2 separate regions of the Homo sapiens genome follow, and region 2 is linked to region 1. The links are contacts of gene promoters, found by promoter capture Hi-C in human tissues and cell types (Jung and others, 2019). All regions are on one chromosome and are shown on one strand. Each heading gives the region's core, a stretch centred on a gene start or on the middle of the fragment in contact. The rest is flanking DNA. Distances are from core to core; before and after follow the strand shown.

The links. Contacts are between HindIII fragments. The study calls those that stand out against the background at their distance.
Region 2: a fragment that was not itself captured here is called in contact with the fragment with the promoter of ARRDC5 in region 1 in 1 of the 25 tissues and cell types used here (dorsolateral prefrontal cortex).

The regions. Positions count from the first base shown.
Region 1 is chr19:4,901,034-4,906,762 of GRCh38, reverse strand. ARRDC5 (arrestin domain containing 5) reads left to right here and starts at 3,867. Exons shown (of 3, transcript NM_001080523.3): 1 at 3,867-4,190. The coding sequence starts at 3,938. It also overlaps a transcript of UHRF1 not described here. The HindIII fragment of the contact is 23,961 bases long and covers 1-5,729 here.
Region 2 is chr19:5,546,033-5,551,431 of GRCh38, reverse strand. No RefSeq gene overlaps it. Among named protein-coding and RNA genes, the nearest start is that of TINCR, 19 kb to the left of the region's middle. The HindIII fragment of the contact is 3,354 bases long and covers 1-3,202 here.

The DNA of each region.
Region 1 (5,729 bases), core at 2,618-5,117:
TTTTCTTTTTGAGATGGAGTCTTGCTTTGGTGCCCAGCCTGCAGTGCAGTGGTATGATCTTGGCTCTCCGCAACCTCCACCTCCTGGGTTCAAGCAATTCTTCTGCCTCAGCCTCCCCAGTAGCAGGAACTAGAGGTCCGCACCACCATGTCCGGCTAATTTTTTATTTTTAGTAGAGATGGGGTTTCACCACATTGGCCAGGCTGGTCTCAAACTCCTGACCTTAGGTGATCTGCCCGCCTGGACTTCCCAAAGTGCTGGGATTACAGGCATGAGCCACTGTGATTGGCTGGGCATGCATTCTTCATGTACACGTGGTGAGGGGCACAGCCTAAGCACCTTGGATAATGGAAGTTAAGTGTCACAGAGGAGGTATCTAGCCCTCCCTGCAGAAAAGATACTGAGGACTGTTGATTGAGGGCTCCAGTTCCCTAGTCATCTTGAGAACATCAAAATTTTTCAAATTAGCTCAGGTTAATTGTCCAGCTGGGTGCAGTGGCTCACACCTGCAATCCCAGCACTTTGAGAGGCCGAGGAAGGCTGATCTCTTGCGCCCGGGAGTTTGAGACCAGCTTGGGCAACGTAGTGAGAACCCTTCTCTACAAAAAATAAAAATAAATTAGCCAGGCATGGTGGTGTGCACCTGTAGTCCCAGCTACTCAGGACACTGATGCAGGAGGACCTCTTGAGCCCAGAAGATCAAGGCAACAGTGAGCCATGCTTGCGCCACTGCACTCTAGCCTGGGTGACAGAAGGAGACTCTGTCTCAAAAAATAGTAATAATTGCTCAAGTTAATCATTTAAAAACATGAGTAACAAACTATTCCAGGCGTCTCAGAAAAAAAGCTCACAAGTCACTTAGAGCAGGGGTGTCCAATCTTTTGGCTTCCCTGGGCCACATTGGAAGAAGAATTGTCTTGGGCCACACATAAAATACACTAACACTGGCCGGGCACAGTGGCTCACGCCTGTAATCCCAGAACTTTGGGAGGCCAAGGCAGGCGGATCACTGAGGTCAGGAGATCAAGACTAGCCTGGCTAACACGGTGAAACCCCGTCTCTACTAAAAATACAAAAATTAGCCAGATGTGGTGGCACGTGCCTATAATCCCAGCTACTCGGGAGGCAGAGGCAGAAGAATTGCTTGAACCCAGGAGGCGGAGGTTACAGTGAGCCGAGATTGCACCACTGAACTCCAGCCTGGGCAACAAGAGCAAAACTCCATCTCAAAAATAAATAAATAAATAAATAAATAATAAAATACACTAACACTAACAATACCTGATGAGCTAAAAAAAAAATTGCAAAAAAATCTCATAATGTTTTAAGAAACTACAAATTTGTGGCCGGGTGTGGTGGCTCACACCTGTAATCCCAGCACTTTGGGAGGCTGAGGCAGGTGGATCACGAGGTCAGGAGATGGAGACCATCCTGGCTAACATGGTGAAACCCCATCTCTACTAAAAATACAAAAAAAAATTAGCCGGGCATGGTGGCACATGCCTGTAGTCCCAGCTACTCGGGAGGCTGAGGCAGGAGAATGGCGTGAACCTGGGAGGCAGAGCTTGCAGTGAGCCGAGATCACACCACTGCACTCCAGCCTGGGCGACTGAGCAAGACTCTGTCTCAAAAAAAAAAAAAAAAAAAAAAAAAAGAAAGTTTACGAATTTGTGTTGAGCCATATTCCATCCTGGGCCAAATGTGGCCCGTGGGTCAGGGGTTGGATGAGCTTGACTTAGGGAAATAAGAGGCCAATGCCCACAAAAGCTATCACATAAAATAATGCAAGATACAGCCAAGACAAGAAATAAGGCCTGCCAGGCTAGAGAATGGGTACTTCCTAGCCCCTCCTATGATTCAATGTCCCTCCCTCTCAGGCACCAGACCATGTGCAAATCAGGTGCCAGGAATAATTGTTAGAGTGCAAAGGGCTTCAGTTTCCCTTTTGCAAAATGATACATTCTCAGAGGTCATTAAGTCATTCAACAAACTTTTATTGATTCCACCCCCCACACCCACTCCTGGCTGAGCCAGATCCTGCCTGGGTCACGCAGACATTGATGGGCACAAAGTTCACTTAGACAAGGTCTCACCCTGGAGGGACTTCCCATCCAATGGGGGAGATGCAGGCATAAAGAGAAATGTCAGCCAGGCGTGGTAGCTCATGCCTGTAATCCCAGCACTTTGGGAGGCCAAGTGAGGCGGGTGGATCATGAGGTCAGGAGTTCAAGATCAGCCTGGCCAAGATGGTGAAACCCTGTCTCTACTAAAAATAACAAAAATTGGCTGGGTGCGGTGGCTCACGCCTGTAATCCCAGCACTTTGGGAGGCCAAGGTGGGCGGATCACGAGGTCAGGAGATTGAGACCATCCTGGCTAACATGATGAAACCCCGTCTCTACTAAAAATACAAAAAATTAGCCAGGCATTTGTGGCGGACGCCTGTAGTCCCAGCTACTCGGGAAGCTGAGGCAGGAGAATGGCATGAACACGGGAGGCGGAGCTTGCAGTGAGCCGAGATCGCACCACTGCACTCCAGCCTGGGTGACAAAGTGAGACTCCAATCTCAAAAAAAAAACAAAAACAAAAACAAAAAGAACAAAAATTAGCCGGGCACGGGGGCAGGTGCCTGTAACCCCCATGCCCGTAATCCCAGCTACTTGGGAGGCTGAGGCAGGAGAATCGCTTGAACCCAGGGGGCAGAGGTTGCAGTGAGCCGAGATCACGCCACTGCACTCCAGCCTGGGCAACAGAGTGAGATTCCACCTCAAAAAAAAAGAGAAATGTCAATCATGCAGGGAGTTGCTGCTTCCTGATGGTGTCGATGTTCAGATTAAGCACACACTGCCCTGATCAACTTCAGTGCGCACCAGATTTCAGGTCCTGGCCATATCTCTATGTTTTTTCCAATATAGACCAATATAAATGTAGAGTCTTTAAGATGAAAATGAGTGTGTATGCACCTGGGCACAGTGGCTCACAACTGTAATCCCAGCACTTTGGGAGGCCAAGGCAGGCGAATCATGTGAGGCCACAAGTTCGAGACCAGCCTGGCCAACATGGTGAAACCCCGTCTCTACTAAAAATACAAAAATTAGCTAGTTGCAGTGGCACTTGCCTGTAATCTCAGGTACTTGGGGGGCTGAGGTGGGAGAATCGCTGGAACCCAGGAGGCAGAGGTTGCAGTGAGCCGAGATCACACCATTGCACTCCAGTCTGGCTGACAGAGTGAGACCATCACAAAAAATAAAAATAAAATAAATAAAAATACCAAAAAAAAATTAGCAAAGCATGGTGATGGTGCATGCCTGTAATTCCAGCTACTCAGGAGGCTGAAGCAGGAGAATTGCTTGAACCCGGGAGGCAGATGTGGCAGTGAGCCGAGATCGCGCCACTACACTCCAGCCTGGGTGACAGAATGAGACTTTGTCTCAAAAAAAGAAAAAGCCCAGGTGCAGTGGCTCACGCCTGCAATCCCAGCACTTTGGGAGGCTGAGGTGGGTGGATCACGAGGTCAGGAGATCGAGACCATCCTGGCCAACACAGTGAAACTCTGTCTCTACCAAAAAATTAGCTGGGCATGCTGGCATGCACCCGTGGTCCCAGCTACTCAGGAGGCTGAGGCAGGAGAATTGCTTGAACCCATGAGGCGGAGGTTGCAGTGAGCCAAGATGGCACCCCTGCACTCCAGCCTGGGCTACAGGGTAAGACTCCATCTCAAAAAAAAAAAAAAAGAACCAGTGAGGACTACAGGTTTCCCAATCAACCACCCACCCTAAACAACAGTTTTGCCTCCCCTCCTGGCCACTGGGGTCCCCACTTCCCGGAACTCTGAGCTGAGTGATGTCATAGATGGATTACCTCACTAGGGCCAACGAACCGGGAATTTCAGGGACATGGGGGACAGAGAGGAATGTCTCTCTACCCCCCAACCCCCCATGTCTGTGGTGAAGTCGATCGAATTAGTGCTGCCCGAGGATAGAATCTACCTGGCTGGCTCCAGCATAAAAGGGCAGGTGATCTTAACCCTGAACAGCACCCTGGTGGACCCCATAGTGAAGGTGGAGCTCGTGGGAAGGGGTTACGTCGAATGGAGTGAAGAAGCCGGGGCATCCTGTGATTATAGCAGAAATGTTATTTGCAACAACAAGGCAGACTACGTGCATAAGACAAAGACATTCCCAGTGGAGGGTAAGGACGAGGCCAACAGCCACCCCTAGCCATGACAGGAACCTGGGTCTGGAAAATAAACACATCCGAGAGTCAATCAACAAAACTCTAGGGCTATCAGAAATAGGGAGTGGCCTGATTTCTCCCTAGGAGGGAGGCCATGAAGAACAATGACCATCAGATACACAAAACGCAAAAATAACAAGACATAAGGAGCTGATCGGAACCCCGATATTCAAAATGAAGGTTCAAAGTAGTCTCCTTGGAAAATGCTCAATCCAACAACTGCCTTTGAGAGGCCTCTGAGAAGTCTTATTCTTTTACAGATAAGTTTCACTCTGACAGCAAAACCCCAGGAGACAAAGTAGGCAGTCCTGCATTCATGGGGAGAGACAGTGGAGGTGGGCCAGGCACAGTGGTTCATACCTGTAATTCCAGCACTTTGAGAGGCCGAGGCAGGTGGATCACTTGAGGTCAGGAGTTTGAGACCAGCCTGGCCAATATAGCGAAACCCCATCTCTACCAAAAAATACCAAAAAATTAGCTGGGCGTGCTGGCACGTGCCTGTAATCTCAGCTACTTGGGAGGCTGAAGCAAGAGAATCACTTGAACTCGTGAAGGGGAGGTTCCAGTAAGCTGAGATCGCACCACAGCACGCCAGCCTGGGTGACGGAGCGAGATTCCCTCTCAAAAAAAGAAAGATAGTGGAGGTAGAAGAGCAAGGGAGACCTTCCAGAGAAGGAATAACTAGTCCCCAGTTCCACCAGGTCAGATCTGAAATCTGAACAAATGTCAGAGAGTCTGCTGAGTTGTCGGGGAAATTATATGTCCATTGCAAAATGTGTTTGTGGGGATATTCCCAGGTATTAAGCAGTCAAGCAGAACACGTGGCCAACACTTGGCTGAACAAAGTGTAATTTAATTTAATTTATTTCTGTATTTATTTATTTGTATCTTATTTATTTATTTATCTATTTTTTGAGACACAGTCTCGCCCTGCTTCCCAGGCTGGAGTGAAGTGGCACCATCTCGGCTCGCTGCAAGCTCCGCCTCCCGGGTTCAAACGATTCTCCTGCCTCAGCCTCCTGAGTGGCTGGGATTACAGGCACCCGCCACCATGCCCAGCAATTTTTGGTATTTTTAGTAGAGGCAGGGTTTCACCACGTTGGCCAGGCTGGTCTCGAACTCCTGACCTCGTGATTCGCCCACCTCGGCCTCCCAAAGTACTGGGATTACAGGCATGAGCCACCAGGCCTGGCTTATGTATTTATTTTTGAGACAGGGCCTCGCTCTGTTGCCCAGGCTAGAGGCCAGTGGTGTGATCAAAACTCACTGCAGCCCCAGCCTCTCTGGCATAAGCGATCCTCTCACCTCAGCCTCCTGAGTAGCTGAGACCACAGGCACATGGCACCATGCTTGGCTAATTTTTGTTTATTTTTTGTTTTCGTTTTTTTGAGACGGAGTTTTGCTCTTGCTGCCCAGGCTGGAGTGCAATGGCGCAATCTCGGCTCACCGCAACCTCCTGGGTTCAAACGACTGTCTCTTAAAAAAAGAACTAGC
Region 2 (5,399 bases), core at 276-2,775, 650 kb before region 1:
TTAATGGGATGGTAATGGGCATGTGATCAGTTGCCAGGGAAGGAGTAGAGATGTCCCATACTTGTGGCTTAAGGTGGGGGGATACGAGAGGAAGACGTGAAGGAAGCTTTGGGCTGGGGAGAAGGGCGGCAATGAGATGCGGCTGTAGTCCAGGAATAGTCAGGGAAGCAGATAATTTGGTTAAAGTATCTCGGCCTAATAAGGGAACTGGGCAGGTGGGGATAACTAAAAAAGAGTGCATAAAAGAGTGTTGTCTAAGTTGGCACCAGAGTGGGGGAGTTTTCAGGGGTTTTGAAGCCTGGCCGTCAATACCCACAACAGTTATGGAGGCAAGGGAAACAGGCCCTTGAAAAGAAGATAATGTGGAGTGGGTAGCCTCCGTATTGATTAAGAAGGGGACGGACTTACCTTCCACTGTGAGAGTTACCCGAAGCTCGGCGTCCGTGATGGTCTACGGGGCTTCCGAGGCGATCGGGCAGCGTCAGTCTTCAGCCGCTAAGCCGAGAAGATCTGGGAAGGAGTCAGTCAGAGAGCCTTGGGCCAGAGTTCCAGGGGCTCTGGGAGTGGCTGCCAGGTGAGTTGAACAGTCCGATTTTCAGTGGGGTCCCACACAGATGGGACGCGGCTTAGGAGGAATCCCGGGCAGCGGGCATTCCTTGGCCCAGTGGCCAGATTTCCGGCACGTGTAGCAAGCTCCTGGGGGAGGAGGTTCTGGAGGAACGCCTGGCCGCTGCGGTTCAGGCATTTGGAAGTTCTTGTGTGCTGGAGATGTGGCTGGGGTTTGTCTCACAGTGGAGGCAAGGAATTGCAACTTTTTTCTATTATTGTACACCTTGAAGGCGAGGTTCATTAAGTCCTGTTGTGGGGTTTGAGGGCCGGAATTTAATTTTTGGAGTTTTATTTAATGTCGGGAGCAGATTGGGTAATAAAATATATTTTGAGAATAAGACGGCCTTTTGACTTTTTAGGGTCTAGGGCTGTAAAGTGTCTCAGGGTTACTGCCAAACAAGTCATGAACTGGGCTGGGTTTTTATATTTGATGAAAAAGAGCCTAAACGCTTCTGATTTGGGATAAAGAAAAAGGAGCATTAACCTCGACTATGCCTTTGGCTCCAGCCACCTTTTTAAGAGTAAATTGCTGGGCAGGAGGGGGAGGGCTAGTCACGGAACGAAACTGTAAGCCGGACCAGGTGTGAGGAGGGGAGGCGATAAAAAAATGACAGGATGCAGGAGCAGAGGCTGAGGAAGAATTGGGACTTAGCTTGGGCTGGCGAGGAGGGGAGAGGTCAGATGGGTCTGTAGAAAAGGAAGATGAGAAAGACTCAGCGACGCTTGGGGTTGGGACTGAGGGGACAGGTGGGAGGGAAAGAAGGAAGATTTGGGACGAGTTGCACTGGGCACAGAGAGTAGGAAGGGACTGATGGACTTCAGGCACCTCAGACCATTTGCCCATTTTACGACAAGAATTATTTAGATCTTGTAGGATGGAAAAATTGAAAGTGCCGTTTTCCGGCTATTTGGAACTACTGTCGAGCTTGTATTGGAGTCAAGCGGCATTGCAGAAGAAAATAAGGCATTTAGGTTTTAGGTCAGGTGTGAGTTGAAGAGGTTTTAAGTTTTTGAGAACACAGGCTAAAGGAGAAGGAGGAGGAATGGAAGGTGGAAGCTTACCCATAGTGAAGGAGGCAAGCCCAGAAAAAAGAGTAGAGACACGGAGAAGGGGTGGGGGGTTCTCGCCCTCCAGAAAAGCAGAGAAGGGGTTGGGGCACGGAAGTAAGGGATTGGGGCACAAAGAGGTCAGGGTGTGGAAATAAGGGATTGGGGTGCAGAGATATAAGAGGTTGGGGTGCGGAAATAAGCGATTGGGGGTTTCTTGCCCCCTAGGAAAGCGGGACTTGCCACTGAGGGTGAAGGAGAAGGGGTTGAGGGGTACTTGCCCCTGCCCCAGGAAAGCGGGACTTGCCACTAAGGGTGAAGGACCAAGGCGGGCGTCCCTGCGTGGTCTGACACCCTTGAAACGTGAGTGTATAATCAGAGAGGCGTCCCTGCAATGATTAAACACCAAGGGAAGGCTGCCTTCCCAGTCCGTGACCGGCGCCGGAGTTTTGGGTTCACGGATAAAACATGTCTCTTTTGTCTCTACCAGAAAATGAAAGGAATTGAAATTAAGAGAAGGGAGAGATTGAAATGTGGCGCCAAGATTGAAAGGAGAAAGAGGTTGAGGGATAGTGAGGGAGGTTGGAGAAGAGAGTAAAAAGAGGCCGCTTACCGGATTTGAAATTGGTGGGATGTTTCCTGGGCTGGTTGGACTGAGGACCTGAGGTGGTAGGTGGATCTTTCTCACGGAGCAAAGAGCAGGAGGACAGGGGATTGACCTCCCAAGGGAGGTCCCCCGATCCGAGTCACGGCACCAAATTTCATGCGCGTCTGTGTGAAGAGACCACCAAACAGGCTTTGTGTGAGAAGCATGGCTGTTTATTTCACCTGGGTGCAGGCCGGCTGAGTCCGAAAAGAGAGTCAGCGAAGGGAGATACGGGTGGGGCCGTTTTATAGGATTTGGGAAGGTAATGGAAAATTACAGTCAAAGGGGGTTGCTCTCTGGTGGGCAGGGGTGGATCTCACAAAGTACATTCTCAAGGGTGGGGAGAATTACAAAGAACCTTCTTAAGGGTGGGGGAGACTACAAAGTACATTGATCAGTTAGGGTGGGGCAGGAACAAATCACAATGGTGGAATGTCATCAGTTAAGGCTGTTTTTACTTCTTTTGTGGATCTTCAGTTACTTCAGGCCATCTGGATGTATACGTGCCAGTCACAGGGGATGCGATGGCCTGGCCTGGGCTCAGAGGCCTGACAGTAGGTATCTAATAAATGCTGTAGCTCACGCCTTTAATCCCAGTAATTTGGGAGGCCAAGGCAGGCATCACTGGAGCTCAGGAGTTCAAGACCAGCCCGGGCAACATAGTGAAACCCTGTCTCTATAAAAACTACAAAAATTAGCCTGGTATGGTGTTGCACACCTGTGGTCCCAGCTACTTGGGAGGCTGGGGTGGGAGGATCACTTGGGTCCAGGAGGTGGAGGTTGCAGTAAGCCGACATTGCACCATTGCACTCCAGCCTGGGTTACAGAGCCAGATCCTGTCTCAAAAAAAAAAAAAAAAAAAAAAAAAAAGCTGCAGAATCTGTGAGTTGACTGCAGGCCTCATTCTGTCCCCCACCTAGCAGGATAAAATGGTGTGAGGATCAGCGGCAGACTCCCTATCTCCAGGCAGATCTGTCTCCCTTAGATGCTGAAAGATGCCAGATGGTAAACGTGTCTCCATTGTAAGAACTGATCTAACTGATCGTCAGCTTGAACTACTTTCTTTTCCTTCAGATTCCGGATTGCTTGATCCTGCCACATGGGCACAGCACTCTCTGGTGGTCGGTGCAAAGGCTGCAGCATTTTAGAAATGCAAATGCCATCAACGTGGGCAATTAAAGATTTCCTGGTAGCCACAAGAAAAAAACAGTAAAAAGAAGGCTGGGCGCAGTGGCTCACGCCTCTAATCCCAGCACTTTGGGAGGCTGAGGCGGGCGGACCTCCTGAGGTCGGGAGTTTGAGACCAGCCTGGTCTCTACTAAAAATACAAAATTAGCTGGGCGTGGTGGTGCACGCCTGTAATCCCAGCTGATTGGGAGGCTAAGGCCGGAGAATCACTTGCACCCAGGAGGTGGAGGTTGCGGTGAGCTGAGATCACACCATTGCACTCCAGCTTGGGCAACAATGAGCGAAACTCCGTCTCAAAAAATAAAAAATAGTAAAAAGAAACAGGTGAAATTAGTTTTAGTAATGTGTTTTATCATTTAAGCATGCAATCTATAGAAAAAATTGTGAATGAGCTATTTTTTCTGGGGTGTGTGTGTGTGTGTGTGTGTGTGTGTTCTGAGACAGAGTTTCACTCTTGTCACCCAGGCTGAAGTGCAATGGTGTGATCTCAGCTCACTGAAACCTCCATCTCCCAGGTTCAAGCGATTCTCCTGCCTCAGCCTCCCAAGTAGCTGGGATTACAGGCACGTGCCACCACACCTGGCTAATTTTTGTATTTTTAGTAGAGACGGAGTTTCACCATGTTGGTCAGGCTGGTCTCGAACTCCTGACCTCAAGTGATCCACCCGCCTCGGCCTCCCAAAGTGCTGGAATGACAGGCGTGAGCCACCGTGCCCGATCCGATAGTCACATTTTAAGTACTCAATAGCTACATGTGGCCAGTGGCTCCCACGTTGGACAACGCGGGTTTAGGTACATGATCGTCACTTTCCCAGACCAATGCAATCACCTCCCTTCACAATCTGTTGCCGCTGTAGCCCCCAGAAGGGTTCCTGTGAGCACCTGGGTCTGGCAATGTCTCTCCTCTGTCCAGAGCCCTCCATGGCTCCCATTGCCTTCGGGATGAAGCTAGAACTTCTCACCAGTGCCTGATTGATCCTTGGCTGCCCCCACCACCCCTGTTCTTTCCACGCAGCCAGCCACATCCACCTACCTGCTTGCCTATTCCCCCACATCCATATTTGTTGCCCAGGCTGGAGTGCGATGGTGCGATCTCGGCTCACTGAAACCTCCGCCTTCTGGGTTGGGAGAGAGGATCACTTGGGTCCGGGAGGTGGAGGTTGCAGTGAGCTGAGATTGCACCACTGCACTCCAGCCTGGGTTACAGAGCCAGACCCTCTCTCAAAAAAAAAAAAAAAAAAAAAAAAGCTTTGCACGCAGCTCCAATGTCCTCCCCTCCAAGGTCGCTCAGCACCAGCCCTGACTCTGCAGAGCTTGGGTGTCTGTGTCCAGCTCCATCCCACAGTCCCAGCCTGGGGATCCTTGGGGGCAGGGTCCCAGGCTGAGTCCTCTCTGGAGCCTGTACCGTGAAGCACCGGGGCAGGGTTCAGAAGGATGTATCACCACACAACCTTGAAGCAGCTGCCTCTGCTCACTCATTCCTTCACTAATTCACAGGTGCATTCACTTCTGACCTTAACACCTGGGAGCTAGGTCGGGTGTTGGAGGAAGCCGAGAAACTGGAAGATGGGGAGTGGAATTGAGCCTGGGTGACCGTGTCACTGTGAACAGGATGAACAGGATGACGTTCAGGCTCCTTTTCTGGCCTTCAAGGCCTCTCCAGCTTCAAGGAGACAAACTTATTAGTCCATGAATGAGTCACACTCTCCTTCACTTCTCTAGGCTTTTGCATACACAGTAAAGCCCTTTCAGCAGACCCTACTCATACCTAGAAAACTCCTATGGATGCGTCAAAGCCCAGAACAAGTCCTCATACCTACGCTGGGCTTCCTTCAGCCTCAAGTCTCTCTTTCTATTGTAGTCCACATACAGGTGGGGGTGGCAGGAAGTGGGGAAGGTTACTTGATAG